Linked DNA regions of Homo sapiens: regions 1, 3 and 4 are each linked to region 2. The links are contacts of gene promoters, found by promoter capture Hi-C in human tissues and cell types (Jung and others, 2019). All regions are on one chromosome and are shown on one strand. The core of a region is centred on a gene start or on the middle of the fragment in contact, and the rest is flanking DNA. Distances in the headings are between cores, read along the strand shown. Region 1 overlaps ZNF525 (zinc finger protein 525). Region 2 holds the start of ZNF613 (zinc finger protein 613). Region 3 overlaps ZNF816-ZNF321P (ZNF816-ZNF321P readthrough). Region 4 overlaps ZNF765-ZNF761 (ZNF765-ZNF761 readthrough).

What was found. The method cuts DNA at HindIII sites, captures the fragments that hold promoters and counts their contacts. A contact is called where the count stands out against the background at its distance.
Region 1: a contact is called between a fragment that was not itself captured here and the fragment with the promoter of ZNF613 in region 2, in 2 of the 25 tissues and cell types used here (aorta and pancreas).
Region 3: a fragment that was not itself captured here is called in contact with the fragment with the promoter of ZNF613 in region 2 in 1 of the 25 tissues and cell types used here (aorta).
Region 4: a fragment that was not itself captured here is called in contact with the fragment with the promoter of ZNF613 in region 2 in 2 of the 25 tissues and cell types used here (aorta and stomach).

The regions. Positions count from the first base shown.
Region 1 is chr19:53,378,906-53,382,250 of GRCh38, reverse strand. ZNF525 (zinc finger protein 525) reads right to left here. Exons shown (of 4, transcript NM_001348156.2): 4 at 1-1,529. The coding sequence ends at 232. Among named protein-coding and RNA genes, the nearest start is that of ZNF765, 15 kb to the left of the region's middle. The HindIII fragment of the contact is 5,110 bases long and covers 1-3,345 here.
Region 2 is chr19:51,925,994-51,929,121 of GRCh38, reverse strand. It overlaps ZNF613 (zinc finger protein 613), which reads right to left and starts at 1,650. Exons shown (of 6, transcript NM_001031721.4): 1 at 1,582-1,650. RefSeq lists enhancers at 1,712-2,011, 1,867-2,630. The HindIII fragment of the contact is 6,749 bases long and covers 1-3,128 here.
Region 3 is chr19:52,955,395-52,958,431 of GRCh38, reverse strand. ZNF816-ZNF321P (ZNF816-ZNF321P readthrough) reads left to right here. Exons shown (of 4, transcript NM_001202473.2): 2 at 2,328-2,405. The coding sequence starts at 2,343. It overlaps ZNF816 (zinc finger protein 816), which reads left to right. Exons shown (of 4, transcript NM_001202457.3): 2 at 2,328-2,405. The coding sequence starts at 2,343. Among named protein-coding and RNA genes, the nearest start is that of ZNF816, 6.0 kb to the left of the region's middle. The HindIII fragment of the contact is 5,247 bases long and covers 1-3,037 here.
Region 4 is chr19:53,456,040-53,459,209 of GRCh38, reverse strand. ZNF765-ZNF761 (ZNF765-ZNF761 readthrough) reads right to left here. Exons shown (of 13, transcript NM_001350496.2): 13 at 949-3,170. The coding sequence ends at 2,462. ZNF761 (zinc finger protein 761) reads right to left here. Exons shown (of 5, transcript NM_001289951.2): 5 at 949-3,170. The coding sequence ends at 2,462. Among named protein-coding and RNA genes, the nearest start is that of ZNF813, 10 kb to the left of the region's middle. The HindIII fragment of the contact is 5,248 bases long and covers 1-3,170 here.

The sequences.
Region 1 (3,345 bases), core at 118-2,617, 1.5 Mb before region 2:
GCCACACCTATTACACCTGTAAGGTTTCTCACCAGTGTGAATTCTCCTATGTCTTTCAAGGTTTGATTTGAAACTGAAAGCTTCATCACATTCTTCACATTTGTAAGGTTTCTCTCCACTATGAAATTTATGATGGTATACAATGGATGACGTATGACTGAAGATCTTGCCACAATCATTACACTTATAACATTTCTCTCCAGTATGAATTTTCTGACGTATTTCAAGATTTTATTTGAAACTGTAAGCCTTGTCACATTCTCCACACTTGCAAGGTTTCTCTCCACTATGAAGTCTACAATGGCAGGTAAGGGATAACTCCTGACTGAAGGTCTTGCCACACTCATTACATTTGTACAGTTTCTCTCCATTATGAATTCTCCTATGTCTTTCAAGACTTGATTTGAAACGGAAAGCTTCATCACATTCTTCACACTTGTAAGGTTTCTCTCCAGTATGAAGTCTACGATGGCATGTAAGGGTTGACATATGACTGAAGGTCTTGCCACAATCATTACACTTGTATGGTTTCTCTCCAGTATGAGTTATCCTATGACTTTCAAGGTTTGATTTGAAACTGAAAGCTTTGTCACATTCTTCACATTCGTAAGGTTTCTTTCCAGTATGAATGCTACGATGGCATGCAAGGTATGACTTCTGACTAAAGGTCTTGCCACACTCATTACACTTATGTGGTTTCTCTCCAGTATGAATTCTCCTATGTCTTTGAAGGGCTGAATTGTGTCTGAAAGCTTTGTCACATTCTTCACATTTGTAAGGTTTCTCTCCAGTATGAAGTCGATGATGATATGTAAGGGATGACATCTGACTGAAGGACTTGCCACACTCATTACACTTGTAAGGTTTCTCACCAGTGTGACATCTACGATGGCGTGCAAGGTATCGCTTCCGAATAAAGACCTTGTCACATACATCACATTTATATTGTTTCTCTCCTAGATGAATAATCTGATGTTTCCTTAAGAGTGAGCTATAATTAAAGGCTTTGCCACTCTCAATACATTGGAAAGATTTTTCTCTCATGCGTACTTCCTGTCTTTGTGTGAGTAATGAATAATTCAGAAAATTATCCCCATAGTTATTAGATATATGGGTTTTGGGCCTACAAGAAATTCTTTGGGCTGTTGAAACCGAGGAAGCATCGTTGATAGACTTCTCCACTTGATTATTAATTTTCCCTTTGGGCTGAAATATGTGGAGTTCAGACAGATGTGAATGAAAGCTTGATCCAAGCTGATATTTAATAGGCTTGTTTCCAGCATGCCTGTGATCATATTGCTCTGTACTACCCATCAATTTTTTGATTTTTGTCATGGGTGCTTCATGGCCATTTCTTTCATCTTCTTGCCACTGAAACTCAAAGTTATGAATATCTTTCTCAATTTCCTGGAAGGAAAAATCTCCAATGTGATGACGTTCATGTCTTTGCAATGTCCCTGTGTGGATCACTTCTGTATTGCCTTGTGCTGTTGATGAGAACTCCTTCATTGTGCATTTGGAAGAGATACCTACAAAATATAAACACTAATAGGTACACAAAAGACAATACTGATTTTAAACTTCCCAAACATGATCTTCAAAGTTTAGGAACACAAAATCGTAAGATTCTTTAATAAATAAAGGGCGATTACATGTGCTTCAAATTATTATTATGAAAGCTTATTTCCAATATCATGACAAAACACTGAAGGGCACAAACATGTGTAAGCCTAAAATAAGGAGTATTTTTCCACTGTGACCCTAAAGTGTCTAACAGTTTGCAAAAGACATATCACTGTCACATCAATGAAAAGTATATATTCTTCATATTTACAGCATACTTACTGTATACAAATAAATACTAAAGGACCACACAATATAATATACTGGTAAATAATCCACAGCAAGCTCATGTAAGGATAACCAAAATCAATGGAAATTCTGTATTGTTAAATAATCATAGCACTGAGAAGATAAGAAAAGTTTACAAAATTTAGCAAGGCATGGTGGTGCACGTCTGTACTCCCAGCTACTCGCAAGGGTGAGGTACAAGAATTGCTTGAACCCAAGAGGCAGAGGTTGCAGTGAGCCGAGATCGCACCACTGTACTTCAGCCTGGATGACAAAGTGAGACTCCATCTCAAAAAAAAAAAAATATTTTTCTGAATAACTGTCATAAAATTACCTATATCCATGCAGAAAAGGCATATTGTAACATTTAAAATTTTTTTTTTATTTTTGTATTTTTGAGACAATGTTTCACTGTGTCACAACAGGCTGGAGGGCAATGGCCTGATCTCAGCTCACTGCAACCTCCACCTTTTGGGTTCAAGCCATTCTCCTGCCTCAGCCTCCTGAGTACATGGGATTACAGGCACATGCCAGCATGCTTGGCTAATTTTTGTATTTTTAGTAGAGATAGGGTTACATCATATTGGCCAGGCTGGCCTTGAACTTTTGACCTCAAGTGATCCACCCGCCTCAGCCTCCCAAAGTCCTGGGATTGCAGGCGTGAGCCACAGCACCCGCTGGCACTTTGTGACATTAACTAGTAAACTGTGTCAGTTATATTGCATACCACATACCGAAAAGCTTTATGTAAAATCATAAAAATGAATTGGTAAAATAACTGTAACGCATAAAACCAGCAAGCAAATCATAAGTACATTTATACAAACTGCAGAATTCTAAACAATTCCCTGTTAAGAAAAAAGCACAACTTCTACTTACCACCAGCACACAATATAAGAACTGAAATACATGTTAAGATCACTACCTTCTGATGTATGAGGTCAAAAAAATATGCAGCATTATAATGAATAAGAATTCACTAACAGCCGGGTGCAGTGGCTCATGCCTGTAATTCCAGCACTTTGGGAGGCCGAGGTGGGAAGACCATGAGGTCAGGAGTTCAAGAATAGCCTGGCCAACGTGGTGAAACCATAACTCTACTAAAAATACAAAAAAATTAGCTGGGTGTGGTGGCGGGTGCCTGTAATCTCAGCTACTCAGAAGGCTGAGGCAAGAGAATCGTTTGAACCCAGGAGGTAGAGTTTGTGGTGAGCCAAGGTCCCACCACTGCACTCCAGCTTGAGTGACAGGGTGAGACTTCGTCTCTAAGAAAAAAAAAAAGAATTGACTAATAGTGCCGGAGGGTGCAATTATGATGTCACAACTACATTTATGAAACAGCCAGGCAATACAGCAATTCTATATATATATATACATTGCCCTATGTATCTAGTTCACTATGCATAAAATATAAAACATAGAATGTGTACTGGGAAAATTTATAAACTGAGATCAGAGAAAACATTGTATGAAACAAATTAAACAATAAAAACA
Region 2 (3,128 bases), core at 401-2,900:
TGCATTGTGAAAATCAAGCATAGAAAACTGAAATTGAAATATACAAAAATCTTATCAAAAGTCATTACTGGGGAACACATTTTGGGATAAGAGAGATGTTTTACTTGTGTCAGAACCTGAAAGAAAATATTTACGTGTGTGTATACACACATTCACACAGTAAACCTGAGGAAGAAGAACGAAAATCTTTAATAGAAACCTTATCATTTTCTTCGTTTTGTTTTTTCCTTTTTCTTTTCTCCTTTTCTTTTCTTTTTTTTTTTTTTTTGAGGCAGGGTCTCACTCTGTTGCCCAGGCTGGAGTGCAGTGCTCAATCATAGTTCACTGCAGCCTAGAACTCCCGGGGTCACGTGATCGTCCCACCTCAGCCTCCCGAGTAGCTGAGACTACAGGCGTGTGTTACCACACCCAGTTAATATTTGTATTTTTTGGAGAGACAGGCTATGTTGTTCAGGCTGATCTCCAACTTCTAGGCTCGAGCAATTCGCCCACTTTGGCCTCCCAAATGCTGGGAATATAGGCGTGAGCCACCGCGCCAGGCCACCTTACCATTTTAGATTTGATTAATCTTTGATCTTCCCCAAAGCTTTCCTATTTACCAGGATGAGAGAAAGGAGAGATGTGAGAAGTCAAATGAGATTTGTAAACCAGTCCTTGCAGAGAAACTTAAAAGGGACTGAGAGGGAATGTACCGTTGGACCTGAACACACACACCAATCAGGATGCCCTGGCTGCCAAGGCTTCAGCCTTCACAAGCTTCTCCACGACTGTCACATCTAGACCTCCCTAACATGGTCACACCCCCTTAGATTAATCCAAAAACCTGGACCACACACCTAGGTTCACATGAACCCGGGCTCCTCCTCACTGAGTCGCATATTAAATCCTGATTACAGCCTGGAGCGAAGGCTCACGCCCGTAATCCCAGCACTTTGGGAGGCCAAGGTGAGAGGATCGTTTGAGGCCAGGAGTTGGAGACCAGCCTGGGCAACATAGTGAGACCCCCGTCTCTGCAATAAACAGATAGATTAGATAGATAAATTAGATAGATAGATAGATAGATAGATAGATTAGATTAGACAGATTAGATAGATAGATAGATAGATAGATAGCGTGGTGGCGCTCACCTGTAGTCCCAGCTACTCGGGAAAGCTGAGGTGGGAAAATCACCTGAGCCCCGGGAGATGGAGGCTGCAGTGAGCCACGATTGCGCCACTGCACTCAAGCCTGTGTGACAGAGCGAGACCCTGTCTCAAAAATAAAAAATAAAACCCCGAATCCGAAGCAGACACAGTTTTCCTTGACAAAAACCACTCCTCACTCCAGTCCTCAATCACCGAGCCCTACAGAGTGACCCGCAAAGGCACCAAACCCTGATCACGGACTTCCAAGTGTTGCTCTGGACAGACTCTGACCACCGACCACTGGGATCCCTCAGGGCTGACTCCGGAGACGCCCCAACCCCAATACCCCGACTCCCACTTGCTCCCGCTTCCCCCACAAACTCCACGGCTCCGCACTAAACGGACGCCCACAGACACCCTCCTCCCCTCATCCTGACAGACAGACCCACACACAGACCTGATTTTGCGGGGAACCCACCGAGACTTCCCAGAACCTGCACTTTCCTGAATTATTCCACTTCTGGGCCCTCCCCCAGCCTCCAAGCCGGCCTACGGCGGCCGAGGAAGGTCTGAAGTTGCAGGTGTACGGAGCACGGACGACTGGGAGGTAGTAAGTTCGCGTCCTCTCGTCACGGATACTGGAGGCAGCCATCTTTGAATCCTGCACGTACGGAAGGTAAAGTGGACCTTTTCTGCCCAAGTATTCAGGGATAGCGCGGGACGGTGAAGAACTCCATATTTTGGCACCTAAATCCTGCGCCCAAGTTTCATTTATTTTCAGAGGGTCGAGCTTAGCCAAGACAAACATGGTATGGCTACGTGCACCTTAGCGGGCTGGGGAGAAAAGTCATCCGCTTTGCACAAAGAATGACGGGAATGACACAATGGGCGCGGCCATCTTAACACTTAGGTGTCCGTACAAGTGAAAACGCTTTCTCCACAGAGGAAAAAGAGCAATCGCACCCTGAGTCATATACCGCGAAAACGCATCTAGCTACATGTGGAGGACAAGAGGAAGATTTTTGAGGACCAAAAGGGTGTGGAGAGGCAATCGAGGTACGAGGATATTGTTCACCCCGTCAACGGAAAGTGAAAAAACAGCGACCCCTGGAACCTCATTTACATTTGAGGGACACGGTCACCGCCCAGTGCAGGTAAAGAGAGCAGCCACCAGCCAACCGGAAAAGGAATCCAATGCGGGAGGCGGGAATTTTCCTTAAGAGAGAAGAAGGGCCTTCCCTCTGCTGTAGGTGGAGTCAATCTTAACGTCGGGGCTTTCGGAGAACCAAGTGCCTAAAATTCTGGAAGGAATAAATAAGGCGACTCTGGGAGAATGAAAAGTTGTGCAAGCCCGGGCGCGATGGCGCACACGTGTAGTCCCAGCTACTGGGGAGACCAAGGCAGGAAGATCGCTTGAGCCCAGGAGTTCCAGGCTGCAGTGAGCTATGATCGCACCTATCAATAGCCACTGCACTACACAGCCTTGGCAACCCCTTCATGAGGAAAAAAAGAAAAAAGAAAAAAAAAAGTTGTGCAAGAAAAGTAATCATAGGATACTACCTGACTGACCTATAAATATTATTTACATAGTCATCATAACGTAAATTCTAATTCTGATCCAACCTAAATTAAGACAATTCCATTGGAAGAATGAGAAGGAAATTCCTGCATGCAGTGGAGTGTTTATATTTATAACAGAGTTTTCACGTGTCCTTCATGATACATCTATAGAAAATGCCCCAAAATGCAAACTCCATTTCAGAAACATACCGTGTTACTTAAAATATCAAATCTGTGAAGAGTGAAAAGCTTTACAGAACTATATGACTCCTTAGGAGAATTGCAAAATAAAAGCAAGAATCTTATGACTCAGGAATTCCACTCCTAGATACTTATACAACAGTAATGAAATGATATGTCCTCACAAAGACTCACAAGAATGTTCTTAGCACCTTTATGCATAATACCCTGAACAGGAAACAGTCCAAGTGTCCATCAGTACAT
Region 3 (3,037 bases), core at 54-2,553, 1.0 Mb before region 2:
TACTGAGCAGTGACACCTGATCCCAGATCTTCCTACTGAAAGGCAAACAGCTTCTGGCTCTGAGGGGCTAGTCTAATGCTAAAGAAAGTGTCTTTCAGGTCTAAGCCAGAGAACCAGCTGTCCTCAGCTGGCAGCAACCTTAACGTGTACGGGTTAGGTACTGTTGGATGTAAAGTCACTGTAGCTTGATTGACTAAGTGCAAGTCCTGTACCGGCCTGTAGTCATTGGTCCCTGGCGTGGGAACAGGCAGGAGGGGAGTGTTCCAGGGAGACTGACAAGGGACTGTAATTCTAAAGGCTCTCAGGCTCTTGAGATGGACCTGGATACTTTCAAGATCTTCTCTGGGGACCAGGTACTGTTTTTGCCTGACTGGCTGGGCCCTACGCTTAACTTCTATAAGTACCAGGGCTTGGTTAACTGCCATCCCTGGAGGGTTGTCTTCTGTCTACACCCTTGGCCACCGCTTAGCCAGAGTTGGTCTTATCTCTTGGCCTGGCTCAGTTAAAAGAAGTCTCCATTCCTCTTCCTGGGGGACTGTAAGGGCCATAATGACTCCCGTTCTGGGTAACCTTAGCTGTAAAGAGCTGTGCTCTGTAGAAGAGACGGTGGCTCTCAGCTCGCTAAGCAAGTCCTTTCAAGTCCTTTCAAGTCAGGCATGTACAAGAACTGGTGAATCACTTTATGTCTTCCTACAGTACAAGTCTGGGGCAACAGAAAGCTTGCTTTGATAAAACTCCCATGGCTCCGATTATAACAATAGTCTTTTTGGAAAGGGGGGCAACCGGGGCGGTTACTACTGAATGTTCAGCACTGGTATCAATACGAAAATCAATGTCTTTGCCCCTAACTGTCATCTTGACCATGGGCTCCTTGGGGGCAGTTGAGCCTGGTCCTCCTCAGTTCAGTAACTCTTCTGCTATATTGAACAGGGCTCCTTCTGGGGCCTCCTGCTCTGAGCCACCTTGTTTTCCTTTTAGCTGAGGGCACTTGTCCTTCTAATATCCTATTTCTTTACAGTAAGCACACTGGTTACACTGCAAGTTCGGATGGCCAGGCTAAGTATCTTTCTGGGGCACATGCCTACCTGGTAGCACTCTCAGAATCCATGTCGCCCAAGCTGGCTGGAGTACCCAGCAGGGATGCTCCAAAGGGCAGGCCTAAGTCACCTAAGGGGTTGCCTCGACCTTCTGTTAATTACCTCGCTTCCAAGTCAGGGAACCAAGAAATGTAGCATGACGAGCCGCAGACAGTACCTCTCAGACAACGGATTAAAGAAGGAAGTGGCTTTATTCGGCCCAGCGCATCAGAGGACTCGTGTCTCAAGAACTGAGCTCCCTGAAAAAGAAATTCCTGGCCCTTTTAAGGGCTTACAGCTCTAAGGCATCCACGTGAAAGGGTCATGATAGATCAAGCAAGTGTGGGGAATGTGACTTGACACTACGTGCATCAGCTAACAGAACAGAAACTTTTGCAATGCTTCTTCATACAATGTCTAGAATTTACAGATAACATAAGTAGTTTAGGTCAGGGGTTGGTATTATTATTATTTTTAACCACCGGGGCCAGGTGGTAGCACCAAGGTCGTCTGGCTATTTATCTTACTTCTGTTTCTTTCTAACTTTTTGCTTTCTTCCTTTCCTCCTGTCTTATAAACTAGGCAAGGGGGAGGGAGGAAGGCAGCAGGAGAAGTGGTGGTCTGCTTCCTACCTCAGCCTCCAGAGTAGCTGGGACCACAGCTGCGTGCCACCACACCACACTAATTTTTGTGTTCTTCGTAGAGATGGGCTTTCGCCATGTTGCTCAGGCTGGTGTCCAACCCCAGAGCTGAAGGGATCCAGCTGCATCGGCCTCCCAAAATGCTGGGATTACAGGCATGCTGTTTTATCAGATTGCTATTATAATAGGATGGGACCCACACTCAATAATACTTACAATGGCACTGGTGATTCTTATCTGTGTCCAGCATTAAACATCAAGGAAGTTTCCTCCATGTTGAGAGCTGAGATCAGTCTGTGATCCACAGGGAGGTGAGGGGGCTGTGCTCTGCATGGAGTTTGGTTAGGGCTAGATCTGTGCCCTGAAGATCTGTGTCCTGCTGCAGCGTGTGTGTGGACTTTTCCAGGAGGGGAGCAAGATCTGAAAACGGGTCAAAATTACATTTGTAGGTCTTCCTGTGGAACTTTCTTATCTCTGCATGGTCTCTGGTGCAGTGGGTAGCAAAGGACCATCTTTCTCTCGGGTGAGGTTTCCCCTGTGTGTGTGTTTTGTCACAGGAAAGGAGTCAATGGTTTCTAAATATTAAATCTCTTGCTTTTTTAACATACAGGATTTCCAAAGACTCATGTTACGTGAGGAAGCCACCAAGAAGAGCAAAGAAAAGGAGCCAGGGATGGCTCTTCCTCAGGTAAGTGATATTCCTTGGTGGATTCTTCTGTCTCTTTCCTTTCTGAAGTGCCAGGTATTGTAGTAGCCAATCTTCTCTGAGTGTGAAGCATTCTACATCACACGTTTGCTCGCACTCACCCGTGTCTTTTCTCAGTCCCTCTCATCTTCACTTAAATTCCATCTCCTATAACCTAGTGACATGAGCTTGGGAAGAGGCTCCACTGGGCATGGTCCTGGGAAGGGCTCACACCAGACATGGATGGAGATGGGGTGTGGGCCCCATGGTGTCAGTGATGTTGGGCAGCAGGGATTGTTCAGGGGCCACATCTGGATGCATGTTTAGCTCTTTGTGGACCAGATCAGAGAAACTGTATATGAAAGTCATACATTAATGTTCACTGGTTAATCTGGTAAATTCTGGAAGAGGAGACAAACTAGGGGAGATATTTTGTGTCTGATTTTGTAATGCATTTGAAGCTACACTAGTGAGTCAATATGTCTCTGACGCCAAACTTTTGTTTTAAGAGACACGGTGTCACTCTGGGGCCCAGTCTGGAGTGCAATGGCACAATTCTAGTTTACAGCAGCCTCGAACTCCTGGGCTTAAGTGGCCCTCCCACCTGAGCTTCCCAAATTGCTGGGATTACAGGT
Region 4 (3,170 bases), core at 556-3,055, 1.5 Mb before region 2:
CCACGCCGCCCGGCCCATAATTATTCTTTTATTGAGACAGTATCTCACTCCATCACCCACGCTGGAGTGCAGTGGCATGACCACAGCTCACTGCAGCCTCGACCTCCCAGGCTCAAGCCATCCTCCACCACAGACTCCACAGTAGCTGGCCCTGCAGTCAGATGCCACCATGCCCAGCTAATTTTTGTATTTTTTGTAGACAAGGGGGTTTCACCATGTTGCCCAGGCTCGTCTTGAATACCTGGGCTCATGTGACCCACCTGTCATGGCCTCTGAAAGTGCTGGGATTATAGACCTGAGACACTGCATCTGATCTCATCGTAAATTTGATGTTTCTTCTTGTTTCAATTTTAGCAGAATTTATATTGCTTTGATAGAGTCTCTTTTCAAACTCATGTCTTATCCTTCTGAGTGCCTTAAACTACAGCCTGTTCAGACATAACAGACTTGTACCAGTGTTTTGTTGCAAAAACTAAAATTCATGCAAATTTTCTCATAATAGGTATTTTTCCATGAACTTCTTCAAGATCCATTGTACTAGAAAACTGTATTCAAGAGGACATTAAAAAAATGTAGATATTCAAGTGCCACTTATTTCTGGGATGCAAGGATGGTTCAACATATTCAAGCAAATCAATGTGATATACCACTTGAACAGAACAAAAGATGAAAACCACATCATCTTAATAGAGAAAAAGCATTTCACAAAATTCAAAATCCAGTCATCATAGAAATCCTAAACAAAATAGACAGAAAAGGAAATTTACCTCAACAATAGAAAGACCGTCCATGAAATGACCAATGAGTAAACAGTCAAGCAGGGAAAATGTAATGCCTTTCCTGGAGGCTCTCACATGATGCAAGAATGCTCTCACCCCTTCTATTCAATCAATACTGGCTGTCCCAGCCAGAGCAATGAAATAGCAGAGGAAATAAAACTCATCCAAATCAGAAAGTAAGAAGTAAAATTATATTTGTTTGTAGATGACATAATCTTCTGTGTAGAAAATCACAAAGAGCCAACCAAAATACTACTGGAACTAAGTAACATAGTCAGTGGATTTGCACAATACAGTATCAGCACCAAAAATTAGTTGAATTTCCATACTTTAACAATAAACAATTTTAAAAGAAAATTTTAAAACACTTCCATTTGCTGGAGAACTTAAAGAAATACTTAGAAATAAACGTACAAAGGTCAGAAGTTTGTACCTTGAAATCTACAAACATTGATCAAAATGATTAAAAACATTGAGCTACAACCCATATTGATAGCTTGGAAAAATTAATATTGTGAAATGATTATATAATAACCCAATGTGATTTAGATTCAACATGATATCCATAAAAATCCCTATCAGTTTTTTTAAAGAAACAAAAAACAGGCTGGGAAAATGGCTCACGTCTGTTGGCCAGGCTGATCTCAAACTCCTGACCTCAAGTGATCTACCCACCTTGGCCTCCCAAAGCGCTCAGATTACAGGTGTAAGCTGATGTGCCTGGCCCAATCCTCTTAACATAAACACTAATGTCAATTAATGCTTGAACTCAATGTTAAGTCAATACAAACTCAAGTCAATGCTGAATTGACCCTAATGTCAATTAATGCTTGATGGTTTGCTCTACTCATTGCATATGGACCAACTACCTCCAAAATGAATTTTCTCATATTCTGCAAGGAGTGAACTCAGACTGAAGACCTTGGCACATTGATGACATTTGTAAGATTTCTGTCCAGTATGCATTCTCTGATGTCTCATGAGGTGTGAAGTGAAGGCTTTGCCACTATCATCACACATGTGAGGTTTCTCTCCTGTATGAATTCTCCTATGTTTTGCATAGGATGAAGCTTGACTGAAGACCTTGCCACAGTCATGACATTTGTAAGGTTTCTCTCCAGCGTTGAGTTCACCGATGAACTGCAAGGTATGAACAATGTCTGAAAAATCTGCCACATTTATTACCCTAGTATGATCTCTCTTCCTTATGGATTCTCCAGTGATTCACAATGGTTGTAGCATTACTGAAGACTTTGTGACAATCATTACCTTAGTAAAGTTTCCCTACACCATGGATTGCCTGACGGTAAACAAGTGTTGACTGCCTACTAAAGGCTTTGCCACACTCATTACACTGGTAAGGTTTCTCTCCAGTGTGAATTCTAGCATGTTGTGCCAGGTGCGAATCATGCCCAAAAGCCTTGTCACAAACTCTTACATTTTTATGGTTTCTCTCCAGTATGAATTCTCCTGTCTTTCACGGTTTGATGTGCGACTGTAAACTTTGTGACATTCTTCACATTTATAAGCTTTCTCTCCAGTATGAATTCTCCTGTCTTCTGAGGCTTGATTTGCCACTGTAAACTTTATCACATGCTTCACATTTCTAAGGTTTCTCCCCAGTATGAATTCTATGATGACCTGCAAGGTGTGCTTGTTGATTAAAAACCTCACCACATTCATTACACTTGTTTTTCTCCAGTATGAAGTCTACGATGGCATGTAAGGTTTGACTTCTGACTAAAGGTCTTGCCACACTCATTACACTTGTAAGGTTTCTCTCCAGTATGAAGTCTATGGTGGCATATAAGGGATGACTTCTGACTAAAGTTCTTGCCACACTCATTACACTTATAAGGTTTCTCTCCAGTATGAAGTCTATGATGGCATATAAAATATGACTTCCGACTAAAGGTCTTGCCACACTCATTACACTTGTAAGGTTTCTCTCCAGTATGAATTCTCCTATGTCCTTCAAGGTTTGATTTCACACGGAAAGCTTTGTCACATTCTTCACATTTGTAAGGTTTCTCTCCGGTATGAAGTCTACGATGGCATGTAAGGGATGACGTCCGACTGAAGGTCTTGCCACACTCATTACACTTGTAAGGATTCTCTTCAGTATGAATTTTCTGATGTATTTCAAGGTTTGATTTGAAACTGTAAGCTTTGTCACTATCTTCACATTTGTAAGGGTTCTCTCCACTATGAAGTCTACGATGGCGTTTAAGGGTTAACTGCTGATTGAAGGTCTTGCCACACTCCTTACACTTGTAAGGTTTCTCTCCAGAATGAAGTCTACGATGGCAGGTAAGGGATGACTTCCAACTAAAGGTCTTGCCGCACTCATTACACTTGTAAGCTTTCTCTCCAGTATGAAGTCTATGATGG